Linked DNA regions of Homo sapiens: region 1 is linked to region 2. The links are contacts of gene promoters, found by promoter capture Hi-C in blood cells and fetal thymus (Javierre and others, 2016). All regions are on one chromosome and are shown on one strand. Each heading gives the region's core, a stretch centred on a gene start or on the middle of the fragment in contact. The rest is flanking DNA. Distances are from core to core; before and after follow the strand shown. Region 1 overlaps CIMIP4 (ciliary microtubule inner protein 4). Region 2 holds the start of NCF4 (neutrophil cytosolic factor 4).

The links. Contacts are between HindIII fragments. The CHiCAGO score rates a contact against its expected background, and 5 or more counts as called.
Region 1: a contact is called between a fragment that was not itself captured here and the fragment with the promoter of NCF4 in region 2, in 5 of 17 cell types (endothelial precursors, neutrophils, M0 macrophages and 2 more). The highest score is 9.2, in endothelial precursors.

The regions. Positions count from the first base shown.
Region 1 is chr22:36,989,701-36,995,370 of GRCh38, forward strand. It overlaps CIMIP4 (ciliary microtubule inner protein 4), which reads right to left. Exons shown (of 6, transcript NM_001163857.2): 5 at 1,781-1,891; 6 at 1,425-1,576. The coding sequence ends at 1,479. Among named protein-coding and RNA genes, the nearest start is that of CIMIP4, 15 kb to the right of the region's middle. The HindIII fragment of the contact is 2,430 bases long and covers 549-2,978 here.
Region 2 is chr22:36,856,468-36,862,255 of GRCh38, forward strand. It overlaps NCF4 (neutrophil cytosolic factor 4), which reads left to right and starts at 4,539. Exons shown (of 10, transcript NM_000631.5): 1 at 4,539-4,736. The coding sequence starts at 4,705. The region is part of intron 1 of NCF4-AS1 (NCF4 antisense RNA 1); the gene reads right to left. The HindIII fragment of the contact is 9,996 bases long and covers 1-5,788 here.

The sequences.
Region 1 (5,670 bases), core at 514-3,013, 130 kb after region 2:
CTATTATTTTGAGGTCGCCAATGAACCATTCCTGCATACAGTAATACTCTTATGTAGTCCCCTCTCACAAAGTCTGGGCTTGGCCATATGTCTCTTTGGCCACAGGGACATTGACAAGCCAGTGCAAGGCTTGATAAACCATTGCACATTGAATCTTGTCCCCTGAGACGGCTCCTTCTTGAAACCTAGTCCCCATTCCAAAAGAAGCTCAAGTGAGCCACGAAGAGAGGTCCCATGAGAGAGAGTGATGATCAGCCAGCCCCCCACTGTGGTTCTCATCCCAGCTGAGGCACTAGGCATGGGAGAGGAGCAGGCGTCTTCACAGCAGATGCTATACAGAACAGAAATGAGCCGTACCTCCTGAGCCCTGCCTAAATTGCTCAATCATGAGCAAATTAAGGATCATGTCATTTTAAGCCCACAAGTTTTGGTGGTGTTTTGGAACACAGCAAATAATAAATAACCCATGGGTAGAGCACGGTCTGAGGGTGCAAGTCAGTGATCTCGGGGTGGAGTGTGCTGCGGGCTTAGAGACTCATCAGGTGAAAAGCTTCAGGATCAACTGGAAAACAGAACCGTCTGACCTAGAACCCATTATCTGGGGACTCTTCCCTGGGGCTCCAAGCCCCTATGGTCTGAGGATGCTTTTGGCTCCTTAAACAATGAGGAGACCTCAGGCTCACATTACAGGAAGTCCAGAGGCCGGCAGCTTCTGGCCAAGTTGATGGAGCAGCTCTGCGAGGCCATGGAGGACCCAGAATGTGCTGCATGGTCTGCAATTCCTCTGGTCATAGGTGTCTGGCAGGAGTGGTCTGGGCTGCATGGTTCCTCATTCATTACATCAGGAAAGATGGATGCTCTCTCAGCATTCCCAGCTGAGAAAAGAATTTCCCAGAAGGCTGCACGCATCCACACGTTTCCTTGCATCTTATTGGCCCAAATTGAGTCATATGTGCATGACTGAACCAATCACGTGCAAGAGGTGGGGTTGGGGTAGGGGTAAAGAATCACCATGAGACCAATCAAACCCGCCACTAGATTGGAGGAAATGTGTGTGGCCAACTCCTCTGAAGTCCGTGTCTCGTGGGGGAGGAATGGATGTCTGGGAATAATTGGCATCTTCTAGGAAGAGCATGTAGGGTAAGATCCAGCAGTGTCCACTATAGGACCCCCTCACATAGGGCATGTGGGAGAAGCCAGGCACCCTGGGCTTGAGACAGAGTCATGCCCAGCTCTCATGTCCTTTCCTGGGATAATGGATGAAGGTACGTGTGTGTGCATGTGTGTGCAGGAGGGAGGACTAGGGAATAGTTTGGGACCCCAGGGCTTCTATCTTCCCCCAGTTGGTCTCTCCAACACCACATATCGGCCTCTACTCCAGTGTGAAGAAAGGCACCAAGCACAGGAGGACTCGGACCTGAGCCTTTCCTTATTGTTAGCACTTTATTTGAGTAGAAGACACCTCTACTGTGTCAAAACTAGTACTTGGAGCTCTTGGATTTGCTGTTTTCTCCATATTTCTCTTCCAGTGCTTTCTGCAAGTTCAGGTTCATAGCATTTTTCTGGTGCCACCGCCCTACAGCGAGCAGGAGAAGAGCCAGCACAGATTAGATCATCTGGCAGTCTCTGGAGTTGCCCAGACCCCAGGGATGACTCGTACCTCTTCCAAGTCCACCCCGGCTCTGTCTCCTGCTCTGGTTTCTCTCTGACCCTTAGAGCCAACACACCCTGCTGGTGGAGGACAGTCCCTGCCTCCCATCACCCGCAGCTCCTCACTTACCCAGATCATCCGTCTTCCTGCCATGCCAGTGTTCTAAGTCCCTCACTGATTTCTCAATGACCTCTGGTGTGTAAGAAGCCTTCATGAGGCTCTTTGTCTCCTCAGCAGCCCCTGTAGAATACCATGAAGAAACCCCAAGTGCCCAATTCAGTGGCAGTCGGGTACTCCATGGCTTATATTGGGTGTCAGTTTCCTCTACGGATGGTAAATTGTGGAACGGAAGGAGAGTGGGAAGGGTTTCAAAGTAAAGTCGTTTGGGTTCAAACCCAGACTCCATTATTTATGGGTAGTATAGCCTCAGAGAAATTTTTAACCTCTCTGAGCTTCAGTGTCTTCAACTATACCAAGAAATGAGATTTTTTTGCATGGTTGGAAAGACAAAATTATTGGACATTCATCAAGACATCTAGCAAGTGGCAACTAATACCTGTAACTTAGGAAAACTTATCTCTGTTTTCAAAATTCAAACATGCACAAGCAGATACGTTGCAATGATCAAGAGTCAGCAGAAACACCAAAGGACAAAATCTCCCAAATTAGCAAAGATTTGAATGATCAGATACAGAATACAAAATAAGTATATTTAGGCCGGGGGCAGTGGCTCACGCCTGTAATCCCAGCACTTTGGGAGGCCAAGGCGGGTGGATCACGAGGTCAGGGGTTCGAGACCAGCCTGACCAACATGGTGAAACCCCGTCTCTACTAAAAATACAAAAATTAGCTGGGCGTGGTGGCGGGCTCCTGTAATCCCAGCTACTCAGGAGGCTGAGGTAGGAGAATTGCTTGAACCCGGGAGGCGGAGGTTGCAGTGAGCCGAGATCGTGCCACTGCAGTCCAGCCTGGGCAACAGAGAGAGACTCTGTCTCAAACAAACAAACAAACAAACAAAAAACCTATATTTAATGATTGAAACCATAAGAGAGAATAAAAATATAAGCAAAGAGTAAGAAACCATCCAGAAAGAGCAGATAGATTAGTAAGAGAAGCAAACGGAATTTCAGAAATGAAACACATAATAATTGAAAAAAAATTAAACTCCATGGCAATAAGATGCCTGGGACTTGCTTTGAAATAATCTTGGGTGGGAGTGGATGGGTGGGAGAAAAGATGAGACAAGATCGGCTATGTATTAATCATTGTTGAGGCTGAGTGGTATATGCAACATCTATTTATAAACTAAGTTCTCTTCTTTTCCATAAGCTTGAAAATTGCCATCATAAAAGTTTAAAAAGAAATTCAATTAACAGATAAAATAGCAGATCAAATAAAGCTGAGAGAAAATGGTAAACTGGAAGATATACCTAAAGAAATTAATATTAGGATGCAATACAAAGAAATAAAAAGATGTGGGCTGGGCGCGGTGGCTCACGCCTGTAATCCCAGCACTTTGGGAGGCCGAGAATATATATATAAATTCTATATATACATATATCTAAATCCTATATATAATACATATATAAATTCTATAAAATAATAACATGTAAGCTGAGGTGGAGGTCGGGAGAGTAATTAAAGTTAATTAAAGTTTTTTTTTTCTTTTTTTTTTTTTTGAGACGGAGTCTCGCTCTGTCTCCAGGCTGGAGTGCTGTGGCTCAATCTTGGCTCACTGCAACCTCCATCTCCCAGGTTCAATCTACTCTCCTGCCTCAGCCTCCTGAGTAGCTGGGATTACAGGCATGCGCCACCACACCCAGCTAATTTTTGTATTTTTAGTAGAGACGGGGTTTCACCATGTTAGCCAGGATGGTCTGGATCTCTTGACCTTGTGATCCGCCCATCTCGGCCTCCCAAAGTGCTGGGGTTACAGGTGTGAGCCACGGCGCCCAGCCAAAGTTAAAGCCTTCTAAGGCCCTTAGTGTTCAGGAAAACACAAATGCCTAGATTAACTTTATAATTTGTTAATTACGCATATAAAAATGTCAAAGGTAACCACTCAAAGAATAAGAGGAGTAGAAAAGAACAAATATCAGATTGAGAAAAATAAGAAAGCTGATGTAAATCCAAAAAGAGAGAGAAAAAGAAGCCACAAAGAAAAAGCAGCACACCATCCTGGCTAACACGGTGAAACCCCGTCTCTACTAAAAATACAAAAAAAAAAATTAGCCGGGCGTTGTGGCAGGCGCCTGTAGTCTCAGCTACTTGGGAGGCTGAGGCAGGAGAATGGCGTGAACCCAGGAGGCGGAGCTTGCAGTGAGCTGAGAGCGCGCCACTGCACTCCAGCCTGGGCAACAGAGTGAGACTCCATCTCAAAAAAAAAGAAAAGAAAAGAAAAGAAAAAGCAGCACAAATAGAAAACGAAAAATAAGATCATGGAAATAAACCCAAATAGTCTATATCAGTAACGAGAATCAATATGAACGAATTAAACCCATTCGTTAAAAACCAGATGATGACACTACAGAAAATGTTTTCCAGGTATGTATCATTGAAGGCATATTTAAAAGGACACAAAGAGAGGATAAACATGGAAGAACAGAAAAAGATATACCCAGGCAAACACTAACCAAAAGCAGTCTGGTCTAACTATATCAGGTGAAATAGACTGTAGGGCAACGGCACGATGAAAAACAAAAACAATTGCAATTCATTAAGGTAATGTAATGATTCTGAACTTGCTACATTGAAATAATCTCAAAATAGATAAGGCAAAATTGACAGAACCACAGGACAAATGGACAAAGCTGCTATTATAGAGGGAGATTTAAAGACACATATTTTAGTAACTAATAGATCAAGCAAAGCATATTAATAAGGATTAGAAGATTTGTGCAGAAATTATTAACAAGCCTGTTCTATAGACAAATGCAGAATCCCTTACCCAAGAGATTGTTATTATTATTATTATTATCATTATTTTGAGAGGGAGTCTTGCTCTGTCACCAGGCTGGAGTGCAGTGGCGCGATCTCCGCTCACTATAACCTCCGCCTACCTCCGCCTCCCGGGTTCAAGCGATTCTTCTGCCTCAGCCTCCTGAGAAGCCATTACAGGCGTGCGCCATCACGCCTAGCTAATTTTTGTATTTTTAGTAGAGACATGCGCCATCATGCCAGCTAATTTTTGTATTTTTAGTAGATATAGGGTTTCACCATATTGGCCAGGATGATCTCGATCTCTTGACCTTGTGATCTGCCTGGCTCCGCCTCCTGAGATTTTTTTTTTTTTTTTTTTGAGATGGAGTCTTGCTCTGTCACCAGGCTGGTGTGCAGTGGCGCAATCTCGGCTCACTGCAAGCTCCGCTTCCCGGGTTCACGCCATTCTCCTGCCTCAGCCTCCCGAGTAGCTGGGACTACAGGCGCCCGCCACCGCGCCCGGCTAATTTTTTGTATTTTTAGTAGAGACGGGGTTTCACCTTGTTAGCCAGGATGGTCTCGATCTCCTGACCTCATGATCCACCCGCCTCGGCCTCCCAAAGTGCTGGGATTACAGGCGTGAGCCACTGCGCCCGGCCTGGAGAGATTATTCTTAAGCACACACAGATCATCTACAAAAATCACCATCTACTGGGCTCTAAAGCAAATCTGAACAATTTCAAAGGATTGAAATCATTACAGGGCTGTGTTCTCCAATGACAGTCACATCAAGCTGGGAGATGGAATCCACCCCAAAGACAAGAGAGCAAACCAAGAAAGAGGAAGACACCAAATAGAGGAAATCAGAATTCCAACAATGGAAAGAAGTGAAAAAAAGAAAATCCTTGGTAAGCTGGTTCAGGGATCCCTGGATACCTGGACACAGAGGGAAAAGGACAGGACGTAAGCTACCATTCTGCCTGCTCTGTGACTCAAAGACACAATGTCCAGGTGAGCCCAGCCAAGGTTTTGATTTGTATGTGGCTTGTCCTTACCATGGGCTGACCCTCTACTCTCCCCTCCCAGCCCTGCTGCATGGA
Region 2 (5,788 bases), core at 3,289-5,788:
GACTTGGCCGGGTCCTTCTAGTGCGGCTTATAGCATTCAACCTCCTCTAGGTGGCGCTGCGGAGCGGGGACTCGGCTGCTGATCGCGGCGCCCCCTGGCGGTCTGTTCCCGTCAACATTTAGATTAAGCGCAGAGCCGGTTCCGCCAGGGAAGTGCGCGTCCCGGTGCCCCCGCGTGATGAGAGCGGATGACAGATTGCGGGAAAAAGTTAGAATGTAACGTTAGTTGTATGACAGAGAGGACCAAGCTGTGCAGCAGAGGGAGACAGAAAAGGGAGGGACCAAGCCACAGCAAGGAATGATCGTCAATAACATTAACGTCTAGAATTTATTGACCACCTGCTATGCGCGAGCCACTGTCCTAAACATCTGGTATTCATTCCCTTAGTTAACACACCTCTAGTAAGTGCGTGTCTCAAGAACAGTGTCTGTGTTTCATTTAGGGCCTAGCACACAGTGGGTGTCTGGCACATAGTAGGTTCTCAACACATTTGGAAATGAATAATACAATAATCCTGCAATTTTTCTCTCCAATTAATAATGTAGAGGCAAATATTATCTCCATTTAGAAAACTGAACAATGGTCGGAGAGTTTGCACAACTAATGCGTGACACAGCGAGGGCACACGAGGTTTAGACCCAGCTCAGCCGTGTGCCAGGGCTTCTCAGAGAAGAGAAGACCCTCTGCCTTCAGGGAGTTTGCTGTCTAATTGGCCACGTCTACACCCTCCCTGCCTGGGTGGCATGCCAGGGATGGCTATTTATGGCTCAGGGAGGAGGTCCAGTGAAGTTCCCCTCATAAATTATAAAGGGAGACACATGTGGGTCAAGATTGGGGAATTCAGTGTGTGAGGGATCCCCAGGAATCTTACACTGTCCAATCAGGGATTTTCCTTCTCTTACCCTGGAGAGTGGCTGATGTAGGCAGTGGGGATTTGCTGAGTACCTATAATGAGCTCTCAAGGGTATCTCCTGGTCCTGTAGAAGAGGCTCACCTCCTCCCTATCACAGAGTTCCAGTTCCTATGGCTGGAGCTCTCAGCCCCAGCCGCTGGCTGCTCAAAGGAGAGTTTCCTCATGTCCAAAATGGGGGCTATGGTTTATCTTGTATACCCCAGCACCTGCATGAGGAAGGACTGAAAAGTGCTGTGCACTTTTGTGATTCGCACATCCAGTCCCCATTCAGGCTCTGGGGATCCCCCAGGCATGGTCTTGGTGTATTAGACTTTTTCCTGGAGATGTGATTATGAATGGGCATTAGTAAGTGGTGTTATGCAGAGATGCCCTTCTCTGAATGGCCTCTGGTATTTGTTTTTTGAGTTCTTGAGAACATATATATTTTTTGGTATTCCATGGTCTTTATCATTGTCAGGCTGTCACTGAACTGTCGCTTGCATTTGGCTGCCCCTGGTAATTTTCTTCCTTCCCCTAACTCACTGCTTCAAGTTCTTGAGTTGGCAGGAAGAGAGGACCAGGCTCCTTTTATATTTCTTCTGTGAATAAAATATGCCAGTGTCAATGCATAGACTTTGAGCTATCAATTCTAACCATTCAATGGCTTTTCTCTTTTTTTGGTTTATTCACAGGCTGTGGGATGTGGAGGTTATCAAAAATCAGGTCTCCATAAGTGAGAGGTCACTTCAGGCATTTCTTTGCACTTATCCAAAAAAGATTCCATCCATACTTGTTTAATGGAACGTGTGAAGAGCTTGGCTCCTCTTCCAGGTCATCCCTCTGCCTCATTCTCCCCCTGCAGCAGGAGCAGCAAGAGCCCGGTTCTGGAGTGGGAGTAGAAGGTACAGGCATTGCTGCAGCGGCAGGACAGGAGCCCATTGCTGACAGAGTGCCTGGCCTCAAATTACACTGTATCAGAGCTCGGGCATAAAATTGGCAGCAGCGTTCTGTGTATGAGGAGACAGAGAAATACCTGTATTCAGCAGAACCACGGGCAGGGACAGAAGAAAAGGAGAGAAAGAGGGGAGGAGGGGAAGAGCTGGCCCGTCGCGGGCTCTTCCCTGGACATCTTTGTCCCCCAGGTGCAGAGGTGGCTTCCCAGTGGCTGAGTCAGGGCCACAGGAGGTTTCTTGGGGGGTTGGGGGGGCCGGGGTTTGGAGGGCAAGCCATGAAAATACCTGGGAAGGTAAACTTGAGGGCTTAACCCACCTGAAACACACACATACAGATATACACACTGAAAACGATTAAAAAAGGAATAAGAAATGTCCATGTGTCTAGGCACTTTTATACAGTTTTCTATTAATTCCTACTACAACTCCATTAGGCAAGACTGTTTCACAGATTGGTGAAGAAGAAAGGTTCAAAAAGGACATGTTATCTTGCCTGAGTTCACCTATTATAAATGTACTTGTGTTTATACTCATTTGTCACCGACTGCAACCTAAACATCTAAACACATTCTCTCACAGCCACAATGCCACCACTATACACATTATATGGTCTTTTATAGACACAACACAAATGCACTTACACTTGCCTATGCGAGCTGTATGTGTTTATACACAAATATGTGTTTCCAACTATAGGCATATACTACACACACAGTTTACACAATCACCTACAAATTCTGTATCATGCTTGCTTGCTAAAATTGTTTTGCCACTTCCTGTCCTTCCTGACCAACTGTAGGCCAATGTCCTCCTCTTCCCTCAGTTATGGCTGTGTGCTTGCACCTGTTGGTACTTACAGACACCTGCACTAATAACCCTGCTCTGTGTTTCATTTCATCCTCTAGCCTGGGAGCCCCGAGACACCAGCAACTCATCAGACTTATTGTTTGTATTATTTCTAGTTCTTTGGGTGTGAATTCTTCATGATGTGGAGGCTCTGAGCTGTCTTTCACAGCTCACGATTTGTAGTTTTGGTCTGTGAGTTGACAGAGTAGGCCCTGCAGAGTCACTGACTCCAAGCTGTTTTTATATAATGCCTCAGCTTAGGATTTCTGCACCACGTGGGTAGCTTATATCGGGGCCTTACACCAGTGCAGAGGGCAGGCTTGAGGCTGATCTGGTACACACGTCCCTTGTTCCACCCATGGACTGTGAGAGGACCTCAGCTCCTGCCGTGACTCTAGGCTGATGGCTGAGAAACTCTGTTCCCATAATCAGTTCTGACACCCACTTTACACTGAGAACTCAGATTTGACTTTCTGCTAACAGCAGGACCTGTGGCCTGTACCTAGTCCCAGATTTGGCATTAAAATCTCAGCCCAACAATGCATATCCAATCTTGGTTTTCCCATGGGCTGTTGGCCACGTTCCTCTCCCCCTGGTATAGATTCCTGACCCCTCTCTTTGATCCTACCTAAAAATTATGCTTTCTTGTTTTTTTTAGCTGGGACTTGTATGTTTAAAGTAGTTTAAAACAACTTTCTGCTCTGCATGTATGAATACGAGTGTGTGAGCGTGTGTAGCTGGCAGGGAGTTACTGGGTGTGGCTGTGCCAATGACTCCTGTGGACCTCTTCTCAGAGAAGTCCCTTCAGAATCAAATACCCATACCTGTTAGGAGCTGCAGTCACTGACTGGCAGCGTTTCATTCATTCACTGAATATTGGTTGAGCACTTGCAATGTGCCAGGCACGCTGCTAGCCAAGGAGGCAGTCATTAAACATACAGATAAACAAACAAATGTGAGATGACAATAGTTATGAGTGCTCTGCAGTAGACGTGCAGGGACCTGTGAGAGAATGTAGTAGGGAGGGCCTTAATTTAGGGTGTGTGGTCAGGGAAGGCCTCGCTAAAGATGTAGCTTCTAAGCTGAGATGCAAAGGAGGCAGTGAAGAGCTTTTTCCAGCAGAGGGAACACCATGAGCATAGGCCTTGGGGCGGACGTCTTAGAACATTCTAGAAACGGAAAGGAGGCCAGTGAGAAAAAGGGAGCTCAGGAGCAGAGGCTGGGGAAGGCTGCAGGGCCTCAGGGGCATTGGAGGCAGGCAGGGCAAGGACTCTGGACTTTATCCTGAGCACAGGGTGATGGGGCAGGAGAGTTTAAGCAGGGAGGGTGAAACTCACTCTGATTGGCAGCCCTGTGAAAGAGGATTGGCTGGGCATGGAGATCTAAGGATGAGGAAAGGATATCCCAGAGTGCCAGGGCGCGCAAACCAAACTTCACACTCTAGGAAGACAGAGGCCAGAGGAACCAGGAGGGCTTCCTGGAGGAGGTGGCATTTACTCTGGGCCTAAGAGATCACAGGAAAATGGAGGCCAGCATTCTAGGCCTGGGGAAGAGTTTGGGCAAAGGCTTGGCAGTAAGAGAATAAAGGTGGGGCTTGATGGGCCAGAGGATAAGTGACTCCTCAAGGTCACAAGACACCCTGATGGCTGGGACCCCATCTCTGATGGAGCAAGGCTTCTGATACCCAACTGAGGCTTGGCGCCAAGGACTGACATCAAGGAAGTGGATTCCTGCAAACCTGGCACCCGAGGGTCCACTTCCTCAATTTCTGTGCAGCTGGGAGGTGAGGTAAGAGGAAGTGTGGGCCACAGGCTAGGCCCAGAGAGCCTGGAGGAGGAGCCTCTGCCAGACTGGAGAGAAGCAGGCCTGAGCCTCCCCAAAGGCAGCTCCTGGGGACTCCCAGGACCACAGGCTGAGACGAGACGCAGGGTGGCTGGAGGAAGTGAGAGGTGAACTCAGCCTGGGACTGGCTGGGCGAGACTCTCCACCTGCTCCCTGGGACCATCGCCCACCATGGCTGTGGCCCAGCAGCTGCGGGCCGAGAGGTGAGTGCCGGGGTGTGGCCGCCCCCGGGCCTTCTCACTGCTCCTCATAGGCCTTAGGGACAAAGGCCAGTCCTTCTGCAGTCCCTGATCAACATGAGAGGCTGGGGTTGAGTCAGAACCCAAATACTCAGAAATGCAACCTCTCAGAACTGCTTTAACGAAACTTTGAGCTGTGGCTCACCACCCTCAGACACAAATGAGAACACTGAGGCTCCAAGAGTGGGAGTGACTTGCCCACGGTCACACAACGAGTGACCGGCAGTGTCTGGAGAGGAATGCAGGTGTCCTGGGTCCCAGGCTGGGGCCCTTTGCTTCACATGGTGATCAGCAATGACTTTCCATCTTCTGCGCAAACAGAATTCACAGAATCTGGCTTGTTCTTCCGCTAATCAGGGCTTGCCTCAAATGTCACCTCCTCCAAGAAGCCTTCCTGACAGCCCCTACCTCATTGCTGTCTGACCCTTTGCCCTATTTCCCTTTTCTGCCTGGTTCTTATATTACAGGAATAATATTATATGCTCATTTATTATTTTTTCTTGAACGTTGGCTCCCCCATGAGAAGCAAGCTCCACGAGGCTGTGTCCGTTTTGATCGCTGCTGTATCACTAGGAGGTAGCTCATCCCTATTGAGCACCAGGACCAAGGGCTCAATAAATGTTGCTGAATGAATGAATAAATGAATGAATGAATGGGTGGATCTTTGAGACGGAAAAGGTCTTAGATTCTTCTAGTCCAACCTTGCCATTGTACAGATTGGAAATCTGAGGCCCAGGGAGGATAAGAGACTTACTCAGGGTCACAGAGAGTGACTGGCAAGGTTGGGGCTTGGAGCACGGCCTCACCAGCATCTAGCCTCGTCGCTTGGGAAGCATTTTCAGAATTTTTCCTCAGTAGCCAGGTCTGAGCTCTAAGCTGCGGGGGCCCTGAGGACGCAAAGCCTGGCCCCTGCACCCCCTGGATTGGAACAGCAGGTGACCTCTGTTACCTACGTGGAGGCCACTCAGGGGGTCACCAGAGACAGGCCAGGCTGGTGTGTGCCTACGCGGGGAACA